Linked DNA regions of Homo sapiens: all the other regions are linked to region 4. Evidence: promoter capture Hi-C in 16 types of primary human blood cells and fetal thymus (Javierre and others, 2016). All regions are on one chromosome and are shown on one strand. Each heading gives the region's core, a stretch centred on a gene start or on the middle of the fragment in contact. The rest is flanking DNA. Distances are from core to core; before and after follow the strand shown. Region 1 overlaps ME1 (malic enzyme 1). Region 2 overlaps DOP1A (DOP1 leucine zipper like protein A). Region 3 has its middle 83 kb from the start of LINC02535. Region 4 holds the start of CEP162 (centrosomal protein 162).

Evidence for each region. The method cuts DNA at HindIII sites, captures the fragments that hold promoters and counts their contacts. A CHiCAGO score of 5 or more calls a contact.
Region 1: a contact is called between a fragment that was not itself captured here and the fragment with the promoter of CEP162 in region 4, in 6 of 17 cell types (total B cells, naive CD8 T cells, total CD8 T cells and 3 more). The highest score is 8.9, in total B cells.
Region 2: a contact is called between a fragment that was not itself captured here and the fragment with the promoter of CEP162 in region 4, in 1 of 17 cell types (total CD4 T cells). The highest score is 6.6, in total CD4 T cells.
Region 3: a fragment that was not itself captured here is called in contact with the fragment with the promoter of CEP162 in region 4 in 4 of 17 cell types (naive CD8 T cells, endothelial precursors, erythroblasts and 1 more); the score reaches 8.4 in naive CD8 T cells.

Annotation. Positions count from the first base shown.
Region 1 is chr6:83,209,874-83,212,573 of GRCh38, reverse strand. It overlaps ME1 (malic enzyme 1), which reads left to right. Exons shown (of 14, transcript NM_002395.6): 14 at 480-2,172. The coding sequence ends at 650. Among named protein-coding and RNA genes, the nearest start is that of RWDD2A, 18 kb to the right of the region's middle. The HindIII fragment of the contact is 3,037 bases long and covers 1-2,700 here.
Region 2 is chr6:83,081,307-83,084,006 of GRCh38, reverse strand. All of the region lies in intron 1 of DOP1A (DOP1 leucine zipper like protein A), which reads right to left. Among named protein-coding and RNA genes, the nearest start is that of DOP1A, 15 kb to the right of the region's middle. The HindIII fragment of the contact is 2,091 bases long and covers 209-2,299 here.
Region 3 is chr6:85,320,594-85,323,293 of GRCh38, reverse strand. No RefSeq gene overlaps it. Among named protein-coding and RNA genes, the nearest start is that of LINC02535, 83 kb to the left of the region's middle. The HindIII fragment of the contact is 3,121 bases long and covers 1-2,700 here.
Region 4 is chr6:84,226,358-84,229,057 of GRCh38, reverse strand. CEP162 (centrosomal protein 162) reads left to right here and starts at 1,415. Exons shown (of 27, transcript NM_014895.4): 1 at 1,415-1,478; 2 at 2,606-2,700. The coding sequence starts at 2,665. RefSeq lists enhancers at 940-1,099, 1,001-1,501, 1,502-2,002. The HindIII fragment of the contact is 5,497 bases long and covers 1-1,678 here.

The sequences.
Region 1 (2,700 bases), core at 29-2,528, 1.0 Mb after region 4:
CAAAGAGTGCTCATCCTGACTGTGGTGTCTAGATGATTAGCTGAGCAAGATCAGGAGACCCTGGGGTACAGGAAGAGATTTTGTAGGAGGCTGTGGTGAGAATAGGGATTCTTGAAAATTCAAGGTTCAAGTTTAGCAGGACTATTTAGGTATTTATTTCAAGTTAATTGTCAGTCAGGTCATGTCAAGACTTTGAACACTGGCTTCTCTGAGAAATCCAGATGTGATAGTACTTGAATCAGTCTCACCTGGTCACACTTTCCTTAGTTGCTGATGTCATTTTTCTCTCTCACTATATGATTTATAATTGCATTTTCATTTTATATCTTCATTGCTTATATGTGCTTTTATTATAATACACTTAATGTTTTTGCAAACATAGGATACAGTGTTTTTGAAATGGATAAAAACTTCCACTCACATGGGCTCATGATTACCTCTATTTATTAAAATAATTAATATTCTTTTCTTATATCTAGATTGTGAAAGATGCATACCAAGAAAAGACAGCCACAGTTTATCCTGAACCGCAAAACAAAGAAGCATTTGTCCGCTCCCAGATGTATAGTACTGATTATGACCAGATTCTACCTGATTGTTATTCTTGGCCTGAAGAGGTGCAGAAAATACAGACCAAAGTTGACCAGTAGGATAATAGCAAACATTTCTAACTCTATTAATGAGGTCTTTAAACCTTTCATAATTTTTAAAGGTTGGAATCTTTTATAATGATTCATAAGACACTTAGATTAAGATTTTACTTTAACAGTCTAAAAATTGATAGAAGAATATCGATATAAATTGGGATAAACATCACATGAGACAATTTTGCTTCACTTTGCCTTCTGGTTATTTATGGTTTCTGTCTGAATTATTCTGCCTACGTTCTCTTTAAAAGCTGTTGTACGTACTACGGAGAAACTCATCATTTTTATACAGGACACTAATGGGAAGACCAAAATTACTAATAAATTGACATAACCAACATTAAAACTCATAATTATTTTGTTGACCATTTTGTTAAAATCTACTTTTCAAAAAAAAAAAGCTAGAAATGAATCTAGGCGTAGGTGAACTTTTGCTAAGCAGAAATAACACTACTTTGTTGCCTAGAGAAAGATAACTTCTCAAGTATTTTTATTCCAGTCCTAGATCATATATGTTCTTTTGTGCAACGGAATTCTAACAGTTCTAAGAGAAAGATCACTGCTGTTTACAGCGCCTTGTGCAGCCTTAGATTTTAATATTCTTTTGTCATTGTTACATCTCATAGAGTAAAGCTCTTATTACCTTGATCCTGAGTCAGAAATCCCACCTGAAATCACCTTTTTTCCCCCTTGATCAAACATCCCATCCTTCAGCTACCATACTGTTGCTACAGGGATTTTGTGGACTGTGGCCCCTGTCCCGAGGTTGGCACCTTCAGTTCAGCACAGCCTGAGCAGTGAGAAGGTCTGAAAGGAGAGTATATAGTTAAGATCCTTGAGAAAGGGCTGCCTGAGGAACTGACCTCTTAAAGATCTCAGGATCTTTAAGACAACAAGTTAGGTTCCTACTGGAGTTACCTGCCAGAATGGCCTCTTAATTAACTCAGGTAATGAAGAGCTAACTGTGTTATAATCATCTTGCTTTTGCCTGAATTTGGAGAAAGTATTATAATTAAGTTCCCAGTATCAGAAATGTCCTTACATAAGATTAAAATATCTTGATGACTAATACCATTCTATGAGAAAGAGTAGTTATATGCCCAGACTGTATTAATTTACTTTAGAAACTAATGTTTGAAGTAATGGAAAAAATTTTAAATTATAAAGCTAAGGTGCAATAACATTTGCTACTTATTTATAGAATTATTTGAAGAATTTTGTTTTTGAAGTAATGCTTTAAGGAGTATAAGATATTCAAGATAAATTATACTATAAAATGATTTTATTGAAAGTTGAAGGTTACACAAATTGTTTTAGGTATGAGCAGAAGAGGTTAAGGTATTTCTAAAGGTAACATATAGTCAAGAGTTTCCTCAAAATAGTTATTTGGAGAAGAATCAGAATGTCTGTGTATTTCTTGTCTGTTTCTATGTTGTCTTATAGCTCTGACTAAATGTGTTTACCTATGCAAAAGATTTATTAAAGCATAGAAAAGGTGAATGAATAAAAATATAAAATAATTGTCCTTTTTCTTAAAATGTTACATTGTAATGCTTGGTCTTGGGGTCATATGATTATGTGTGACGAATTTCTAAAATATTCTAATAACTGCTAATTTCAGTATAAACATCATTCATTTAAAACATATGTGGCTGGGCACAGTGGCTCACGCCTGTAATCCTGGCACTTTGGGAGGCTGAGACAGGCAGATCACCTGAGGTCAGGAGTTCAAGACTAGCCTGGCCAACCTGGTGAAACCCTATCTCTACTAAAAACTATAAAAATTAGCTGGGCTTGGTGGCTCATGCCTGTAATCCCAGCTACTTGGGAGGCTGAGGCACGAGAATCGCTTGCACTGGACGTTGCAGTGAACCAAGATCATGCCACTGCACTCCAGCCTGGGGGATGGAGTAAGACTCTGTCTCAGAAAAAAAAAAATATATATATGTAATCACATATTCTGGACACTGTGATGTGTGAGCCACTTCCTTGTCCTCAGGGAAAGATAATGAAATAAGCATTAGATAGTTACTTACTAGGTGTCAAGTATCCC
Region 2 (2,700 bases), core at 5-2,504, 1.1 Mb after region 4:
TTTTACCAAGTAAATATACACAAAATTATATACGTTATTAAAAATTGTCTCTGAATGCTATAAAATCAGATTCTTTCTCATTTCAAATTCTGTGATTTCTGGTACACATAGCAATATGAAAATATTAATTTTAGAAAATACAAAACATAAGCACCATTTATAACTTGGAATGAGCCATTAGCAGGTAGGTGGGATTCTACTTTAAGCTTCAAATGGCAAACAGCCATAATAATAAACACTTAAGCACATACCCTTGAGTTACAAAGGATCATCCTGTCTCCAAAGCATAGTAGCCAAATAAACATTGTCCACGTATTACTCAAGATGATGATAATAATCACAGTTGATACTGACTTACAAATTACTCTGTGCCAGGCACTATACTAAGCCCTTTCATGTGAATTATCTCATGTATCTTCACAATACATCCATGAGGTAGATATACACATGAATCCATGTTCATATAAGGCAATTAGTGTTCAAGGTGCCACAGAGAATAAAAGGAAGAACCAGGAAGAACTCTGGCAGACTGACTCCTGGAATTGGCCCTTAATCAGTATCTTTCTGAACTTTTTTTTTTTTTTTTAAACCACAAGTCTTAATTCTCCTGCATGACATATTCTACCTCTCCTCTCTCATTAACTTTTTTCAAAAAACTTTTCCGGCTATATAGATTTCTTTCTTAGAAATTGTACTTAAAAAAAAACTATAATAATGTAAATACATATGTTATTCTTCCTAGACCTTGAATGAAGCACAGGGACCAAAGCTCAACTCAAAATACCCCAAGTGGTTCACCACTCAATACTGATAGTGTTTAAAATATAAGGCAAAAATGATCATGATTCTGATACAGAAGTTTTTATTTTTGGTTGTTATCTATAAAAGAGTGGGTTTTTGGCCAGGCATGGTGGCTCATGCCTGTAATCCCAGCACTTCAGGAGGCTGAGGCGGGTGGATCACCTGAGGTCAGGAGTTTGAGACCAGCCTGGCCAACATGGTGAAATCCCATCTCTAATAAAAATACAAAAATTAGCTGGGCGTGGTGGCAGGCACCTGTAATCCCAGCTACTTGGGAGGCTGAGGCAGAAGAATTGCTTGAACCCAGGAGGCAGAGGGTGCAGTGAGTGGAGACCGCACCACTGCACTCCAGCCTGGGTGACAGAGCAAAACTCGGTCTCAAAAAAAAAAAAAAAGTGGGTTTAAAAAAGAGACATGTAGCTTATTTCAAATTGACAGATAAAATTGTATTATGTACAATATAATGTTTTGAAGTATATACACACTGTGTAATGGTTAAATGTAGCTAATTAACAAATGCATTGCCTCAAATAGTTGTCATTTTTGTGGTAAGAACACTTACTACTCTTTGTATTTTTCAAGAACATATCATCATTAACCATAGCCACTATGCTGTACAACAGATTCCTTGAACTTACTCCTCCTAACTATATATCCTTTGACTAACATTCTTCCATCCTGTCATTTCCTCAAACCACCCCAGCCGCTGGTAAGCACCATTCTATTCTCTACTTCTATGGGATATACTTTTTAGGTTTTACATATTGGGTGAGATCATGCAGCATTTATCTTTCTGTGCTTTGCTTATTTCACTTAACACAGTGTCCTCTAGGTTCATCCATGTTATTGCAAAGAACAGAATTTTGCTTTTTGATAGGTGAATAGCATTCCATCATGTATATAAACCATATTTTCTTTGCCCCTTCATCTGCTGATAGACCCCTAGGCTGATTCCATATCTTGGCTATGTGAATACTGCTGTTTATGTGCACTTCTCTCTTTGACATACTGATTTCATTTTCTTTGGATATATACTCAGTAGTGGGATTACAGAATCATATGGTAGTTCTATTTTTTTCATTTTTTGAGGCCCCTCCTTACTGTTTTCCATAATGGCTATACTAATTTACATTCCCACCAACAGTGTGTTCCCTTTTCTCCACATCCTCTCTAACACTTACCTTTTGTCTTTTTGATAACAGCAATTCTAACAGGAGTGAGATGATATCTCATTTTAGTTTTGATTTGCAGTTACCTGATGATTAGTGACGTTGAGCCTTTTTTCATATACCTGTTGGCCATTTATGTCTTCCTTTAGGAAATGTCTACTCAGGTCTTTTGCATATTTTAAAATCAAGTTGTTTACTTGCTATTGAGTTCCTTATATATTTTAGATATTAACCCCTTATCAGATGTATGGTGTGCAGATATTTTCTCCCATCCTGTAAGTAGGTTGTCTCTTTACTCTGCTAATTGTTTCCTTTGCTGTGCAGAAGCTTTTTAATTTCATATAACCCCATTTGTCTATTTTTGCTTTTGTTGCCTGTGCTTTTAAGATCATAGATACAAAATCATGGTGCAGATCAATGTCACATAGCTTTTCTTGTTTCTCCTAGTAGTTTCATAGTTTCAGGTCCTATTTTTTTTTATAACCCAAGATGATTTTTGTATATGGTGAGAGATAAGGGTCTAATTTTGTTCTGCAGTTTATCCAGTTTTCCCAACACGATTTACTGAAGAGAATGTCCTTGCCCCACTGTGTATTACTGTTGCCTTTGTCAAAAACCAGTTGGTTGTAGGGCTGGGCATGGTGGCTCACACCTGTAAACCCAGCACTTTGGGAGGTTGAGGTGGGTGGATCACTTGAGCCAGAAGTTGGAGACCAGCCTGGCCAACATG
Region 3 (2,700 bases), core at 162-2,661, 1.1 Mb before region 4:
GAGTCGTAGGAGCTTGGCTAAGACTTCTCAGTGAATGTAGAAACACTGAGAAGGGAGGTCAAAAGATGATTATGATCGGGGGGTGGGGCTTTTGAGAATTATTATACTAAATGTGAAAATCTGATTTTAGCTCAGGCGAGGCCTTCAGAGAAAGCATTTAGCCAGCAGGAAGTTAAAGGGTAGCATGTGTCTTTATCTGTAGGGACATAGCTGGTTTATCCAGTTCTCTGGGATACAGTCCTTGATTTGAGGGGTCTGGGGTTTTGAAAATTGGCACCACCTGAGGAGTATGACCCTGTGCATTCCCATTCTTCAGCTGGATTTTGGGCTTCTCTCAGGGTTTTGCCTCTGACTGCAGTGGATGGTCACACCAGTAACTGCAGGCTCCACTCCATACAGCTCAAGGCCTGTCTGCTTCTGTTGCTGAAACTGAAAAAGCTGATCAACAGGGCCTCAGCTCCTTACAGTGGGGTGATGGCCCTTCCCACATCTCCAGGAGGGTCTGTCTGCTGAAGGCTGGAGGGGAGCATCCAAGCTGCCTTGATTGGTACTACAGATAACCCTCCCTAAGTCTCTCTCAGGCAATGGGGGAGTGCACAAGACATTGTCTGGGAAATGGAGAAAAAGCGTTTTCCAGGAGCCAGTCTGGAGCCAGGAATGATATGAGAGTCAAGGAAAGTAGACAGTCCTCTCCAATGCTCATTGAGGATTCTTCATTCCTGACTTAGGTTTCTGGCCACACGCATTTCCTGGGAAACATCATTCTTAGTACCTGTTTCTTTAGTGCAGGGCTATTTCTAATGCTTCAAATTCTTTCATATTAATGAAGGAAAAAAGTTTACTCCTCTGCTATTTTAAGCCAACAGAGTAGGAATTCTGGTAGAGGTTGGTGCTGCAAATTTTGAGGCTTGATCAGAAGTTTGAGTTGGGGTAGCCAAATAATGATCAATTTACTATGTTAAACAAAAGGCAAATATTTTATATCAAGCATCACTTGCAGCCTCCCTAATAAAAGATCTATGAATCTTTTTTCCTTGCAAAGAATGAAACACTCCAAAACTCCTGAGTGTTTAGGAATTTGCCTTTCCTCTCACTAGCTGCTCAGCAGCTGAAGCACTGCCAATGGTTGCATGGGGAACAACAGGAGGGGCTTGGGCTGCCTGACAGCCACACCTGTGCCTTGGCTTCAATAGACTAGAACAGGCCTCAGCTGGCTTAGGGGCCAGAACTTGGCAATGCAACACATGTGAGCTGTGGGCAGATGTTGAGTATTAAAGAGTAGAGAAAAGGGGATGATTCTGAGGAGCTGGAGTGGGATTGATTAATGGAGGTGGGGCCGACGCAAATTCAACAATCCCAGCAGACCACTGGCAGGAGAGCTGGTGTTTTAACACTTTTTGTAGGACTTCGTGGAGGTCTTTAGAAACAGGGTAAGTCCCCATGTGTCTGGAGGGTTAGTGGGAGATCTTCCCATAGGCGTGGGTGTGGATTCGATGAACCTTCAAAGTCTTTTCAACATTCTGATTCTGTGGTCAGGATTAGACAGACTCATGTGGCCACAAATGAAATAAAATAGGGATCTAATGGAATGTTTTATGTTCTGCATCTTTAGTTCCAAATGGGAGATAGTCTGTTGAGTGCTGCAAGATTGATCCTGTCCTGTTTCTACTTCAAAAGCTGATTAGAATTGATTCTCTTCATCTTGGCCTTAACATTCTACTTTAAATAAACGTAGAAACGTATTCTGAATCTCTCTGAAAAACCCAAAGCAAAGGACCTGAGAGAATGTACCATTCTAGGGTATTGCAAATGTACTTACTTGAATCCATTTATTTAATGCCTCCTGGCACCCAATTCCACCAAGGTAGTTTGGTTTTTCTGTTAACATTAAAAATTCACCCCAAAAGAACTAACAAACCCAAAATCCAAGTGTCTTACAGAAACTGTCTTTTTCTTTGTAGGTGCTTCTTGCTTGAAACAAGAGGATCTTGTGGCTTGATAAAATGTTTGGAATACCCAAGGAGGGCCTCCTTTTGAAGGCTTATGCAGTGCAGCCTCTCTCAAGATCTCAGTTTACTCAGAGAAGAAAGGTGAACTGCATTTGTTCCAAGTAAAATATACATCTGTATTATTCACCATCACACCCCTATTCCATTACAAACAAATACTGACCTTGTTCTTCTGATGTGAAGCCAGAGGGAGTGTGAAATATAGCAAGGAGAACAGTCTGATGCAGAAATATGAAAGTTCCAAGCAACAGAAACGCGGTATTTAAAAGGAGTAGAGAAGGGCCCCAACTTGGTCTTTCTAATTCCTTCTCTGCAGCTGACCCTGGGGAAAGTAACTCAATAGTTATCAGTCGCTTTGGGGAAACTGCCTACATTAGTTCAGATTGCCAGTTGGATTTTTTCACTCTAGGATCTATGTGTTGGTAGTCTCTCTGTTTTTTCTTTTGGCCTTAAGAACTTCTCTTGAGAACGCTCTGTGTGTGTGTGTGTGTGTGTGTGTGTGTGTGTACATGAACTTTTGACCTAAGTACTAGAAACCAGTTTCCATTTGGATGCCAAGCACGTTTCCTCCTTTTAGCAGGGCTGGGAGCTACCGCTTTGTGATTTCTCTCATCACGATGTTCTAGGAAAAGGCTTTTGAATGGTGGAGAAACTCAGCTAACATTACATTAGAAGAAAGACGGGGAACACA
Region 4 (2,700 bases), core at 166-2,665:
AAAAAAGAAAAAGAAGAAAAGAAAAGAAATTCTAACATTTAGAGGTCAGCTAGGATAGACAGAGACAGTGAAAACCCTTGAGGGGAGGCTATAAATGTGAAAGAAAAACCAAGAAAGAGAGGAGACAAGTGTATCAAATAGTATTGGGAGATCAAATAAAGCGCTGTCATATATGTACACTTACACACACAGAGACAGGATTAAAAGGTCTGACAAAAGGGAGGTAAAGTGGAAATAATTCCTCAGAAAAGATTGGCAAGTAAGGTGAGGAGACAGATCATTTCAACCACTGGGAAATAATAGCATGAAGAGAATGTGTCAGAAGTGATGTTTTAGGTGGGGATCTCAAGGCATGTTCAAATGCTGTTAGGAAAAATCCCACAGCCAGCCAGAAGTCGAAGATACAGGATTAAGGGAAATGACCAGTGGAACAAGATCAGTGAGAAGAAGAATGGGTAAAGGCTCTAGATCATATGTGGGAAGGTAAGTCTTTGATAGAAGGTGGCAGGAAGTCAACTTCTCAATAAATGGTAGCTTAAGATATTTCTTTTATTATTCATATTTGCATCATAGTCCACAGCTCCTGGTTTGTACATATTTGTATTGCAAGAAAGACTTGATGAATAAACAGTTCTAGCTAAAGATGAGGTCCTGAACTAAGTCTACCATCAGCAAAACCTGCAGCTGTTGTAGATTTTACTTACACTATGCTAAATGTTGTCCTCTGAAACTCCAGCTAATGTTGCATGCTTTGAAAAAAAGAAAAGAAATAGAAAACAAAATCCAAGTCAGTAATTGTGAAATGCCAGTAAAGAATGCAGTTTTGAAAAGTAGGGGTAGCGGGAGGAGCAATAACTTAATAAGAATCTTGCTGTTTGCGTATTTTCGATTTCTTGCCCACTAGGTGGTGGAACAGAGTCCCCATCTAAACGACAGTTTTTTTCCTCACAGGTTTGTGTTTCTCTCACAATGCCTACACAGGTCTTTGCAGGCCAAAGAAATCCAAGAAATTCAATCTCTTCAAAATTGCCCCTTGGAAAAACAGAGCGCTCGAATGACAAGTGTGGGGAAGGCGGGAGGCGACGATGCGGAGTGCGGAAACACAAGGACCAGGGGAGCTAAACTACATTTCCCAGAAAGCCACGGGCTGGCCTACAACCACCGCGCCCTCCAAGCCTGCTGGAAGCCTCCGTCTCGCTTCTCCAGTAACCGGTTTGCCGCTGTCCCCTTTTCTAAGGAACGTAGAGAAAGCCAGGGAAGGAAAGGCATTTTACTGCAGCAGCGAAGGTTTAGCCACTAGAGTGTCTTTCTCAGCCGTGGTTATTCCGACCTTCGCTTGTAAAGGCATTGGGAAACCCACGGCCCACGTGACCAGCCCGGGTCATGTGACTCCAGAACCCGGCAGCTGAAGTCTGTTACCCTGACAACTGGTGGACCCGCACAGACCTTCCGGGAAAGCGCGGAATTCAGAGGCAGAGGTAGGTGGTAAGGTGTGAACGCTGGTTTCCCACCCAAATCGCCCTGGTCGAGGCCGTGCTTCATACTCGAGCGAAGGGCTTTAATTTTCCAGGTCATTCCCCTTCTCCGCCCGGAGCCCACGGCAAATGCGTCTTTGTCTTCCCTCCAATTCCCGAACCCGCGCTTCTGGGGACGGGGTCGCAGCCAGGCTTGAGAAGCTTTTAGTGGAGCTCACCCCTGACCAAGCTATTCAGGCCAAGACCTTAACCGCACTTACCCTGAACTGATCGAAAGTGCAAATGAGGGGAAGAGGTGTTACTCTGCACGATGGGGAGGGTATTGTCCGGGTCTGCAAGCCCTCTTCCCCTCCCCCATCTCTACAGAAGAAAGCTGGGATTTGAGCTGCTCTAGGGAGTTCAGGAGCTGGGGGTCGACCCAAGGTTGGGTTCATTAGGTGTCTAGGGGAACGCTTTCCGTTGCAAATCACTGGATTCTGCTTGTGTTCAGCACATAATTTTTGTCGGTCTTCCCTCGCTTCAAAAGAAACATAGTACTGATTTGTGTACTCCATTAACTTTAAGTATTCTTTAAGTATTTTGACTAAATTACTAATTCTTACTAAATTCTATTTGTGTATATTTTGAAACATCCCCGTATCTGGATACAGTCTGCTTTACGAAACTATGCAGTCTGCTTTACGAAACTATTACTATGGATTGGTAAAATAACGAGCCGAGTGATAAGGCAGCACAAACTGTCGTGTGCTTTGCAAGAAAGAAACAGTCCTTTGGATTTGCTAACTTACAGTTTTTAAGATTCCCTGTGAGGACCTGGTTTGTGTTTGAGAGGTACTAATTAACACATGCACACAAACATAGGTTTGGGAAATATTGTAGAGACCACTCTTTAACAATTGGATGTTAACAGATGAAAACATAATTCTGAACGTTGAGTACAAGACATCCTGTCAAAGCTGCTTTTCCAAATCAGTTTGCTTAATGAATTAGGAATCTCTTGACCAGCTCTTACTGGTTAAAAAAAATTGTGCATATATACTGAATCATAACAAATGTCCGAAGTTTAAGTCTGGTCGTGTTCATGATCTGATGGATTTCCTCAAAAGATGTTTATGTCTCTTGTCATTTAGTGTTTCCAATGTTTGAGGTACTTTAGAATGTTTACTTTGGGAGGTCAAAATTGTTGACTATGGCTAACTGTTCCCAAGAAGAGCTAGATGAAGAG